2 separate regions of the Homo sapiens genome follow, and region 2 is linked to region 1. The links are contacts of gene promoters, found by promoter capture Hi-C in blood cells and fetal thymus (Javierre and others, 2016). All regions are on one chromosome and are shown on one strand. Each heading gives the region's core, a stretch centred on a gene start or on the middle of the fragment in contact. The rest is flanking DNA. Distances are from core to core; before and after follow the strand shown.

The links. Contacts are between HindIII fragments. The CHiCAGO score rates a contact against its expected background, and 5 or more counts as called.
Region 2: a fragment that was not itself captured here is called in contact with the fragment with the promoter of MTMR7 in region 1 in 1 of 17 cell types (endothelial precursors); the score reaches 5.0 in endothelial precursors.

What each region holds. Positions count from the first base shown.
Region 1 is chr8:17,410,263-17,416,894 of GRCh38, forward strand. MTMR7 (myotubularin related protein 7) reads right to left here and starts at 3,089. Exons shown (of 14, transcript NM_004686.5): 1 at 3,007-3,089. The coding sequence starts at 3,030. The HindIII fragment of the contact is 2,680 bases long and covers 2,566-5,245 here.
Region 2 is chr8:17,884,724-17,891,355 of GRCh38, forward strand. It overlaps FGL1 (fibrinogen like 1), which reads right to left. Exons shown (of 8, transcript NM_004467.4): 2 at 769-848. The coding sequence starts at 831. Among named protein-coding and RNA genes, the nearest start is that of FGL1, 7.5 kb to the right of the region's middle. The HindIII fragment of the contact is 1,999 bases long and covers 3,611-5,609 here.

The DNA of each region.
Region 1 (6,632 bases), core at 1,839-4,338:
TTACACATGTGGGAAAAATGCCTTCCAGAAAGACCAAAGCATATAAAGTAGAAATCACTTACCAGGATCCTGGACACATTTGCCTCAATCTAGTACCAAACTAAATCCTACAAACACTTCAAGCTACTTCCAGGAGCCCTGAAGTCTTTTCATTTAATTAAGCAGCACTTGAACCCAAATTATGCCTAAGCTTCCAGCAAGTTTTCAGAGTGGTAAGGAAACCCAGACAGTGAAGTAGAAACCTAGAAGTTCACTGGGATGAGTACAGGTAATACTTGGTGTCCCCCCTTTAACCCAACTGCAAACCAGCCTGTCCTTGGAACTTTTTTTTCCCCTCTAGAGGAACCATTCTGGAAGGGAAGCACTCTGCTTAGCATATGCTCTGTTAAAGGCTTCAGTTAAACATACATGCACCCCTAGAAAGAAATATGTGCAAAGCATTCCAGATTATGCACGTGCATCTGTCTCCTTAAACTGCACTCCAGAGACTAAAGCAGAACACAGAGGCTGTCATGGATATTACACAGTCTACAGCGAGTGAATGACTTCCATTGTAACAGAAAAGCAACTGTACATTATACATGCATACAATTCTTTTCCTCTTAAAACTCTACTACCCACACAGTAAATATTGCTATAAACCCACAGTGGGCCAGAAAAACAAACTTTGTATACACTCCTTGCAAACCCAAGACATGAAACCATGAAATCGAAGGAAATTTACCTATAGTTTCACCAAGTATAATGGAAGCAAATAATAAAGATGAATATGACCAGTAACAATTATATATTTAACTCTGCAAGCTCTGTAAGTAATGTTGTTCTCTTTTTCATTTAGACTGTGAAAATTAATTTTGCCCTTAAAAATGTAAAACAAAAGGAGGATGTTATTTAACCTCAAGGAATCATTTATCTTTGACCATTGTTATTGTTTTCAGTTTCTTTAGGGTTGTAATTATTTATTACAATATATATTTATACAAGTACATGACCACTGTTGAAAATGCTCCTAGTCCTCCTTAAGTCCTTCCATGTTAAGACGGCTCTTCTAAGAAGGCTTCCCTTGACCTTGAGGGCAGAGCTGATCCTCTCTTCAGTCTCCCTCTCTACCCACTGCACCTTGCACATGTCTCTATCATACACTGACATATTTACAACTGCCTCCCCTTAGAGATTGTGAGTTCCTGGACGCTTCCAGCACTTAACACAGAGCCTGGCACATGAAAGGTTCTAAATGCTTGTAGAATAAAATAAATGAATAAATGAATCCGATCCATCCAACCTCTGTAATTTCTTATTTTTTTCACCAGCTTTATCCCAAATGTTAATGACTCACCCAATTCAGTAACACTTCAGACAATTTTCCATTTTCCCCCAATTTGTTTCCATTTCCAGATAAATAAGGATTTCTGACTTCAAGTACTGCACTGCTTAGAGGGTATCCATAAACACCAATTTTAAGAGTAAGAACACTGCTTGCAACTCAGGTTCACACGTGACTTTGTACCAGGTGGCTTTGTATATAGAACAGAAAAGGCCTTGACTCCCCCAAATTCATATTCTCTAACAAAGTGGCATCCACTGCCATGTCACTGTATCATTCTTGCTATCAATATCCACAACAGCTATCACTTTTACAAACGGCTCCCTTCATCATGGAAGGAGGAAGAATGCCCTTGGCAAGGGCAGAGTCCATGAGTTAAATTCACCCTTCTGGAATAAATTATTTAGTACCACTTAAACTCTGAAAGCTTTGAGCCACCTATTCTGTGGTTTGTAGCATTGTCTTCTAAGTTTACAATTTCATGATTGTGAAGCGACAACTTAATTCCCTAGTGCAAAATCAATACAATTTAAATTTACTGTCGGAACTGACATTCTCCAGCAAACTAAAAGATTTCTTCTTCCAATGACATGAGATCATTTTAATCTGCTTTTACAAAAAGGTACTCAGGAACTATTCCAAAATTTAGGAATCAATTCTTGCTGGCCATAAAGCAATTGCCCCCACCCCTCTTAAATGTGTGGGATCCCTGGAACCACCTGAGCTATGGCCACTCTGACCTAGCTTTGACCTGTCAGGGGCCTACATTTTGAATGGAAGTTCATCCTGCAAAAACGCAAGGAGCTGTGGTGGTAGTAACAACAGACAGCCAATAGGGTTTTTAAGCATATTCTTTCACTCGTTTAGGGTTTTTATCATGCAGTAACGTCGATCATCATTTTCATTCTAAATTAGATTATCAGTACAACTGAGGAGGAAGATTTGGTACAGCGATCAACGTTTCCAATGTTAATTTACTGGAGTGATCAGGGACCATTTGCTTTTGTTAATTAGCAAAAGCTGGTGTTGTTAAAACACAACAGTGCGTGACGAATCCGTAAGCTGCATCCTTTTCTCTAACGAACAAAACGGACTGGAAAAGGCAAGAACACACCATCATTCAACCTACAATGAATATTGATTATCCGTTCTGTGTAAGGCCCCTTGCAGCTGCTACGCTCAGGATGAGGATGCTGACTGGGAAGGCCGAGCCGGGTGGGCCTGACACCCTAGATTTAACAAGCTTCCAAGCGCAGGAGTCCCTCTGCATTTAGCTCGTTTTCCTTGCACCTGTCACCGAAAGGCTTATTTCCCTTTCAACTACTCTGAGCGGCCAACAGCTAAAAGAGAAAGCCTCGTGCCAGGAGAAAGAAGGGTTGATCTACACCCAGTTACTAGCAGACAACTGAGGTTCCCTCCCGTTCACCCTTGTGTCCACTGCGCTCCCCCAAAACCAAGAGGTCAGACCCAGCAGCAGCTAAGGCTAGGCCTGGGAGGCAGCAAGAGAACGACCGGGCTCGCAGGCACCCCGGGATGCTCAGGCAATGCCTGCTCCTCCCTCGCCCGCGGTCCAGGCTCCGCCGGTGCCCCTCAAAGCAGTCGGCCTCCCGCGCGCTCAGCATCCCTCCTCCTCCTCCCCCATCTCCTCCCGTCCCTCCTCCGCCCGCGCTGGTGTCACCAACCTTGGGCGTACGGATGTGCTCCATGGCTGGCCCACGTCTGCAGGGTCCCGGGCGGGCGCGGCCTCACGCACCTGCGCGCCTCTGCGGCGCGATGGGAGGGGCGCGGGGAGGGGGCTTCGCGCCCGGGAGTGGGCGGGACGCGGTCTTGGCTCCGCCCCCAGGTGTTCCGCGCGCGGCGTGCGGACCCGGGGCTCCCGCGCGGCCCTAGAGAGCCCACCTCCGCGCCTGCGCCCACCTGCGCCGCCGCCGCGACGCGCCTCTGCCTGGGGTTGCCGGGGCGAGGGCTGCTCGCTCTCTCTTAACAGGGGCAGCCGGCGGAGCACTATACGGCCACTGTTCTCCGAGACACAAAGAGGGCCTTGTTTTGGGTGTGGCCTCCTGGAAGAGAGATGGGGAGTACAGGCTGCTCCACACCGTCCCTGGGCTTCCTTCTAGGGCGTCCTGGGATAGCTAGGATTTCAGGGTGGGGCAGAAAAGAAGGCTGCCACAGACACTCTAGACCCAGGACGGTCTTGTAGGCTCAATGTGTGTGTTTCATCCCAGGCGCGGCCGGCATAGCGCTCGGGGTGCGGGTGGAAATAATAGCAGCAGTGTTAGCGCCTTGGTAAGCGCGCTCCTAAGTCAGGCATCTCACATCCACCTGCGACTTCACTGTTGCAGGCGACACTTTTCCCCTGGCACAGTGTTGGGTGCTCATTTGCCCTCTTTATTTAGCTCCAACTGAACTGAGAGATAGAGATACAAAGCATCCATTATGCGGTACCATTTCCCTATTGATGGTATTAACAGTAGTTGGTGCCATTGTTAGCGTTAGGCCTCTTGGGAAAAGCCAAAGAGAGGAAGAACGCCCTCCATTTTTTTTTTCTTGCAGCCCTAAGAGTACAATGCTCCACCATAAGTGAAATTTTATAGAATTCTACATAGTTCTGTTCAATTTTTTCCTCGCTCTTACTCATCTTTCAGGCTGGATTGTGATTTTTTTTTTTTTTCCGTAGAGACTCTGCTTACCGTTTTTTTATCTAATACCTGGACACATTGCAGCCTTCCAGCAAATAATTAATACGGTGTTGAATTTATTTTTAAAATTCCAGATCCCTCTTTCACAGGTCTTCTACCATTTCATCCTCCTACTGCTTTGGGAGGCAATTAGAACAAGTTTACCATTAGTTTACATTATTAGAAGAACTACTCTGGAAAGCCACAGCTGATTCTTTTGGAAGTGAAAAGAACACTTTCGTTGTTGTTGTCACATAAAGCCACTGAACTTTAACGCTGAATTGAGCCTAGCCTATACTATGTTGAAGTGGAAAGGGAATTTGAGAGTCAAAATAATGCACTGTCTCTACCTTTGTGTTTGTGATTTTTTTAAAGAGGGAGTTGGTAATGCCTTTAAAGATCTCTAGGGACACCTAACCATAAGCAAGACCTAAACTACTTGATTGCAAGTTACCAAACGTCTTCTAGAGAATTCTTCTTATGCAACTTTTATCACATAGATAATTCAGTTGCAAATACTTTTGCTAACAGAATTTTAAAATACAACCTTGATTTTAACTGGGCATTTTCCCAAAATCCTGTGATATTCAATGGCCTGAGGAGATTTGAATTCTTATCAAAAACACTTGCAAGACTTTTTCCAGAATACTTATATTTCTCTTGAGGCAAGGCAAACTTCTGATTTGGCAGTGAGACCAAACCCTGTTTCCTTAGGGATGGTATTGCTAATTATTACAAACTCAATACGATCCTATTCAGCGTAATTAAACCCAAATGGACCATATTATAAGTGGAGGAGGGAACACATCTCTGAATAAACTCAGCCTCATCTGGAGTCACTCAGTATGATAGGGTCAGAGCTGCATTTGGGGTTCTGCCTGGCAAAAAGTAAAAGCGGCCTCTCTTCAGGATTTTTATGAACTCAATGATGCAATGTATCAATGTCTCTGTTGGCCTTGCCCTATAACAAAGATGTGGAGGAAAAGCACTCAGTGGATTGCAGTCAGCTCTGCCCTTTTTCTAGCAGCCAAAAGGGAAATTCTAGGGCAGCATGAAAAGAGTGTTTACTCTGTGAACAGTCAAGGCTTTAAAATAGCCTCCTCCCAAAACTGTGAAACTGCTGGAATAAAACATAGGGGAAACTCTTCAAGACATTGGTCTTGGCGAGGATTTTTGGGATAAGAACTCAAAAGCATAGGCAGCAAAGGCAGAAAGAGACAAATGGGATTACATTAAATTTAAAAGCTTCTATACAATAAAGGAAACGACAGAGTAAAGAGACAGCCTACACAAGGGGAGAAAATATTTGCAAACTACGCATTTGCCAAGGGGTTAATATCCAGAATATAAAAGGAATTCAAACAACTCAACAGCAGAAAAACCAAATAGTCTGATTTAAAAATGGGCAAAAAAAACTGAACAGAGATTTCTCAATATGAGACCTACAAATGACTAACAGGTCTATGAAAAAATACTCAGTATCACTAATGATTAGGAAAATGCAAATCAAAACCACAGTGAGCTATCACCTCACCCCAATTAGACTGACTATGATCAAAAAGACTAACAATAACTAATGCTGGCAAGGAGGCAAAGAAATGGGAACCCTTATGCACTGTTGGCAGGACTGTAAATTAGTACAGCCATTATAGAAAACAGTATAGAGCTTCCTCAAAAAATGAAAAATAGAGCTACCGTACGATCCAGCAATCTCACCAGTGGGTATTTATCCAAAGGAAATGAAATCACTATGTTGAAGAAATATCTGCACTCCCATGTTTATTGCAGCACTATTCACAATGGCCAAATATGAAATCAACCTAACTGTCCATCAATGGATGAATAGATAAAGAACATTTTGTAGAGATACATAGTGTAATACTATCCAGCCACAAAGAATGAAACCCTGTCATTTGTGACAATATGGATGAACCTTGAGGACATTATAAGTGAAATAAGCAAGGCACAGAAAGACCCATACCGTGTGATCCCACTCATTTGTGGAATCTTAAAAAGCTGATCTCATGGGCGTCCAGAGTAAAATACTGGCTACCAGAGGCTAGGGAAAATCGGGGAGAGGTGGGTATGTGAAGAGATGGGTCAGTGAGTACAAAATTACAGTTAGATGGAAAGAATAAGTTCTGGTGTTTTATTCCATAGTATGGTGACTATAGTTAACAATATTTTATTGTATATCTGAAAATAACTAGAAAAGAGGACTTTGAATGTTCTCACCACAAAGAAATGATCAATGTTTGAGGTGATGGATATGCTAATTACCCTGATTAGCTCATTACACAGTGTATATGTGTATCAAAATATCACACTGTATCCCATAAATATGTGCAATTATATGTTGATTACATATAAGAATAAAACCTTTTATAATAAAATATTTTAACATTTAAAAATAATTAAAACAGCAAAGTAGTCTCCTGTATTTTGTTCTGCCTTCAGGAAGGCATACAACTCAAGTTCAAGACTGTGTCTTCAGAACACTTATTTCATTTCCTTTTTTTTTTTTTTTTTTTTTTTTTTTTTTTTGAGATGAATCTCACTGTTGCCCAGGCTAGAGTGCAGGGGCACAATGTCATCTTACTGCAAACTCTGCCTCTCAGGTTCAAGCAATT
Region 2 (6,632 bases), core at 3,360-5,859, 480 kb after region 1:
AGGTCAAGTATGCCCAATCTTTATGAGATTGCATACGCATATTTAGTAAGCTTATTTAAAACCTAGGAGTTTTCTTTCTCCAAGAACTTTGAATGAATGTTTTGTCTTTTTTATTCACAAATGAAGGACAACACAAGTTCGATGTAATTACTTTCAAATAATCTGGTTAGTTTTACACTTTTCAATATTGAAAAGCTCAAGGTTAATTTTAATTACTATGGACAGTTTCAAATTTCTAATATTCCAACCAAATAACTCCAGTGAATTTTTAAAAATTACTTATTTATTATGAATACTTTTTATTTAAAAAAATGTAAAGCACTTTTTTTTTTTTTGAGATGGAGTCTCACTCTGTCGCCCAGGCTGGAGTGAAGTGGCATGATCTCAGTTCACTGCAATCTCCGCCTCCTGGGTTCAAGGGATTCTCCTGCCTCAGCCTCACGAGTAGCTAGGACTACAGATGCGTGCCATCACGCCCGGCTAATTTTTTGTATTTTTTTTAGTAAAGATGGGGTTTCACCATATTGGCCAGGCTGGTTGCGAACTCCTGACCTTGTGATCCACCCATCTCGGCCTCCCCTGCAAAAATGTAAAGCGCTTTAAAGTGCTGCTTTACTATGTGTCCAGTATTTCTACCAGCCTCTTTGCTTTTCCCACATAGTTAAGTTTTTTCAATGACAAGTCACTATAGGTTTAATGCAAAATGAAAGAAAATTCAGATAAAAGCAGGCATTATAAATATGACAATAGTTTTCCCAAGAAGCTTACCGAAATTTCCCTGCCCATTGTCAGAGCGGTGGTAACAAGGATGAAACTGAACACCTTTGCCATGTTCCCCCTTGAAAAAACTGCAAGAACAAAAAGAATTTTATAAATGTATCAACCTTGAATTTTTCATGAGACCAGAGTTCAGACTTCAGTAGCTCCAGGAAGTCGGATGCAGCCGCAGGCCATCCCTAATCTTAGAGTCGCCGAGGAAATTCTCCCAGACTTTCCCAGCCTCTCACCACACAGAATGACACTGAGTGTTAACTAGAATTGAATCTGTTTCATCACAAAAACAGAGGAAGGACTCTGGTTCTTTTCGCTATCCTAATGTGCTGTTTGTGTTATGCTGTGGAAAGGCACAGGAGCATTTTAATCAGTTATTTAATGTTACACATCAAGGAAGTGGCGTAGTCAAAATCTGCACGCTGGTCTCTGCTTATGGAGCTTGTGTCTTTTTCTCCCTATGTTGTGAGGCTGGTCTCAAACTCCTGGGCTTGAGTGATCCTCCCGCCTTGGCCTCCCAAAGTGCTGGGATTACAGGCGTGAGCCACTGCCTAGAGTAAGATTTTTGAAAGCAAAGGTCACACCTTGCTAATTTTGGTATCCCTAGCATTTAATTCTTGTGGTGACCCCAATAACTGTTGTTGCTTCTACGGAATTATTCCTCAGGAGGCAAAATCGTTCTCAGAGGGAAAAATGTAATTTCCTTGCTTTAAACTACAGTCTGTTTATACTGACATACTTTCCTCTTTTACTGGAAAACAATGGGCTAAGTATAGTTTTGAAGGTAAGAGTTAAGAAGGAGTTGGGGACTTTTGGTTTGATTGAACACATGAATTTAATTTTTTCCTTCTCACAAAGCCCACTAGAAAATGAGTGAAGAAAAAGTTTAAAAGATGCGAACTGACAAAGTCAAAGAGAAAGGGAAAGAACAGCTAGTGTGCAATGTCAGCAAGTTGGTAGATGATAAAAAGGCATGTGGGGGGCCTGGTGCGGTGGCTCACGCCTGTAATCCCAGCACTTTGGGAGGTCGAGGTGGGCAGATCACTCGAGGTCAGGAGCTCGAGACCAGCCTGGTCAACATGGCGAAACCCTGTCTCTACTAAAAATACAAAAATTAGCCAGGCGTGGTGGTGGGCGCCTGTACTCCCAGCCACTCGGGAGGCTGAGGCAGGAGAATTGCTTGAACCCGGGAGATGGAGGTTGCAGTGAGCCGAGATCGTGCCAATGCACTCCAGCCTGGGTGACAGAGTGAGTCCCTGTCTAGAAAGAAACGAAATGAGAGGAGAAGAGAGGAGAGGAGAGGAGAGGAGAGGAGAGAAGAGAAGTAGGGGAATTGGCAAAGCAGCAGTAGAGAGGAGCACCATGAGAAGCGAGAGAAGTCACAGTGTAGCACCCTAGGGGATTCTGGATTGGAGGCACTGCTAGCTTGGAAGTGAAGGTAGAGGCAAATGGGCTAACAGTCAGATCCTCATCTAAATCCTGTGCAGCCAGGTGAATGCTGCTTCTCGTACCCTTTCAGAATATGGAAGATTTACTTTCTATTAAGATTGCCCAGAGATGCTCCAGGTGACATGACAGCAGAAGTGCTGGAGGGGAGGAGAGAGACCCTGTTCAAAAAGGGTGAGGCTTTCCCAGGCTTCTTCTCTTGCAGCCAGGCAACCGGCTCTACACTCTTCCTACCACTTTCCAGGCCAAAGAACATAGGATTCCTCGCTGGAGGAACAGCAGAGCTTCACCGAAAAGATCTTCAGAGACTGACATTGGAGGATTCTCCATCAAAGGAGGCTTTTCCTTGACTGATCGCTCTCCAAAGAATCCCACCAGTTGGGAAGCCTCCTTCATGCACCTGGGAGAGGTATAAAAGGTATAGGCACACTATTCTGCTTATTTCTTTCAACGTAAGTCTTCTTTCTGAAGAGAGGCATATTTTACATTTCATTCTCTGTCCACATCAAATGGTCTAAAGAGAAACACCAAATTTCTGTATTACAACACTGGGCAGAAATTCATATGATAGCAATTAGTCATGACTTAACCCTTTCACCCAACACTGTGAACAAAATAACCAAGATGGGCCGGGCGTGTTGGCTCACACCTGTAATCCCAGCACTTCGAGAGGCCGAGGCGGGCGGATCACTGAGGCCAGCATGGCCAACATAGTGAAACCCTGTCTCTATAAAAATACAAAAAATTAGCTAGGTGTGGTGGTGGGTGCCTGTAATCCCAGCAAATTGGGAGGCTGAGGCAGGAGAATTGCTTGAACCTGGGAGGTGGAGGTTGCAGTGAGCCGAGATCACGCCACTGCACTCCAGCCCAGGTGACAGTGCGAGACTCCATCTCAAAAAAAAAAAAAAGTATCTCTAGACCCATTTTTCCATTAAAGTTATCCTTTTAAACATATGATATAATTTGTAGCAACAATTTATAAGAACTCTGGCATTTCACTCTTTATTTTATCTTAGTAAATATTTTTTCTTTAAAATTCAATTGTATATTGAGTATGTACCTATCTTAGGCCCAGTGATAGAAATAGTAGTCTTAGGCCCAGTGATAGAAATAGTAATCTTAGGCCCAGTAATAGAAATAGTAGATGTTTTTATATGTAATGTATTAAATATAATTGATTATATTAAAATATTTGCTTATGTTAAAAATAGAGAAAATTAACTTTCTGATATTTAAAACATTTACCAATGTGAAAAAGAGACACCCTCTGTGTATTTTTATAAAAGATAAAATGGGGTGAGAATAGGATTGCAAAGGAACAGAAGTCGTGACCAAATTAGAAGAAAAGATGATTAGGTTTGCTATCAATTAATATTCGCTAATTAATATAATAAGCTTGGAATTATTTAAGGAACACTTTTCTAGGTCACATTTATTATTGTCATGAAAGGTAAAATCATTTTCTTTAAGATAAAAACATTGACTGCACTAAAGAGTCATCATTTGCAATGCAGTAGTGTCCTAAATCTCTTATTCCCAGATGTCAAGATTATGTCTACAAATTAAGAAAATTTCAAGTTGAAATAAGTATTCTAAACCGAAGACATCTGATGTTAGGAGCAAATACATTTTCATTCCGATCCTGGGGGTAGTTTCATGTTTTCTTTTGTTTTTCTTTTTTTGTCTGAGGGTCCTTGGGAACACTCCTTATTCATTGTGGCTGAATTTTTTCAACATCAGCATTGAATACTACAAAGGATTGTATCAGATATAAATCAATAGTCAATAATTTTATTAAGAAGTAAAAACCATCCATTTAAACTGAATTACAGTGGGAAAATATATTTGTAAAGAAGGCTTAGAAAATAAACAATAACAATAAACTAGAATGAGATTATTTCAAGCATATATTTTCTAACTATTCGTAGGTAAAGTTTTAAAAATTGAATGGATTCTAGTCCTCTAATCCCTGTCACTAGAAAATGACTGACCTACAGCATGCTTTAGTATCTTTTCTTCACAATAAGAGAATAATATTTTAATAATGACACACAATAATTGCTAAACAGGCTTGATGGGACAGTAAGCGTAGTTCCACAAAGATGCCAAGCAGCCTGCGTGGCCTGGGGCATTATATAAAAATGAGCTAGCCATTCAAGTAGAATGTACCTCTGCAAGGCTGCAATATTACTTACATTAAAGGGCCCATCATCAAGGGGACAAGGGCTATTTCCCCAAGTCTAACGTGGATTGGAAAAATAAGGAATACTCATCTGAAACCATATTGTGTTTGTGTTTGGGCATCACTAAACACTCTGCCGAACTTTGGCTGGGCGTGGTGGCTTACGCCTGTAATCTCAGCACTTTGGGAGGACGAAGTGGGAGGATCGCCAGAGGCCAGGAGTTCAAGACCAGCCTGGCCAACATGATAAAACTCCATCGCTACTAAAAATACAAAAATTAGCCAGGTGTGGTGGTGCACACCTGTAATCCCAGCTACTCGGGAGGCTGAAGCATGAGAATCACTTGAACCTGGGAGGCGGAGGTTGCAGTGAGCTGAGATTGTCTCACTGTAGTTAAGCCTGGGTGACAGAGCGACACTCCACCTCAAACAACAACAACACTATCAAAACACTATCAAATTTTAATTGGCCATTTTATTTTATTTCATTAGCCTCACAGTGAAAATAAGAAAACAAGCACAAGGATGCTTATGATTTCTCCAGGACCATTCAGCCTCTGGGGATATCCCCTGGGAATATCTCCCAAATCTCCTGAACCTCTTTCTTTATTGCCTGGTTAATCCTTTCTTACTGTATTATGTTGAACTATAAGAAATGGCAGATGTTTGAACATTTCTGACTTAGAAAAATGGCAATTTCATTGTTTCAAATTAATGCATATTGTTTAGATAGGAAGAACACACTTGAAAATCATTATAACCATTTATACTACAATGAATACCAAAAAAATAGGTTCAAAATATACTGTTTGCAGCTTACTTGATCAGAGAGAGAACAAATTGGCAAGAACCTGTTTTTATATCAATGCTGCCTCCCATGTTAATACATTAATGTGTGCCATTTAAAATATGTTTACAAAATTGCTAATACATCATCAACACATGAAATCTCACGATGTCTTTAGAAGACACATTATGTTTACTTTTTACTAAAGGAAGCTCAAATAGTGAAGCAAAGTAACTTTCCTAAGGAAAGACTCTACGTTCAAAATTTATACAACATCCAATCATTTCTCACCACCTCTATTGCTAATGTCTGGCCCAAGCTACCAATGGAAGATTCCAAACAATTTTTTAGAATTACAATGAGACAACATTCTATACTGAGCCTTTCCTGGGCAAACCGGGATATTTGGTCATTCACCGACAAAGCTTTACATAATCTGTGAGCATCCACCTCCTCAACACATCTCTTTTCCCATCATTTTTGCCTGTTCTGGCTACATTGGCCTCTTTGGCATTTTTGGAAAACCCTGAAATACACAGACTTCTCAGGGCGATTGCACTTGCTGTTCTCTCTACCTGGAATGCTCTTCTGAAAATCTCTGTGGTTTGCTCCATGACATCCTTCAGGTCTTTGCTCAGGTATTCCCTTCCCAGAGATACCTTCCCTGACTACCACATATAAAATAACAGCTGTCCCCTACTGTCTTAGTCCATTCTCATTTTATAAATTTACCCAGTAAAGATCTGCCTGAGACTGGGTAATTTATAAAGGAAAAAGGTTTAATTGACTCACAGTTTGCCATGACTGGGGAGGCCCCAGGAAACTTACAGTCGTGGTGGAAGGGGAAGCAAACATGTCCTTCTTCACATGATGGCAGGAAGGGGAAGAGCCAAGCAAAAGCCCCTTATAAAACCATCAGATCTCAGGAGAACTCACTATCACGAAAACAGCAGCATGGGGGTAGCTGCCCCCATGATTCAATTACCTTCCACTGGGTCCATCCCATAACATGTGGGATTACGAGAACTACAATTCAAGATGAGATTTGGGTGGAGACACACGCAAACAACATCACCCACACACTTCATATCTCTATCACAATGGATTCAGTTTCTCCTTAGCACTTATCACCAAATATAATGAAATATTATAATATATGTGTTTATTGTCTACCTACTCCAACCGCCCTGTACAATGTAAGCACGAAGAGGTGAGTGGCTACATCTATTATGTATACTGCCCTAATGCTAGGTGGATAGTTAGGTACTGTACTAGTTTCTTGAGGCCACCATAACAAATTACCATAAACTGAGTGGCCTAAAACAACAGGAGTTTATTATCTCACAGTTCTGGAGGATACAAGTCCAAAATCAAGAAGAACAGGGCCATACTTCCTTCAAAGGCTCTAAGAGAAAATCCTTTCTGGACTCTTCTAGCATTTGGTGG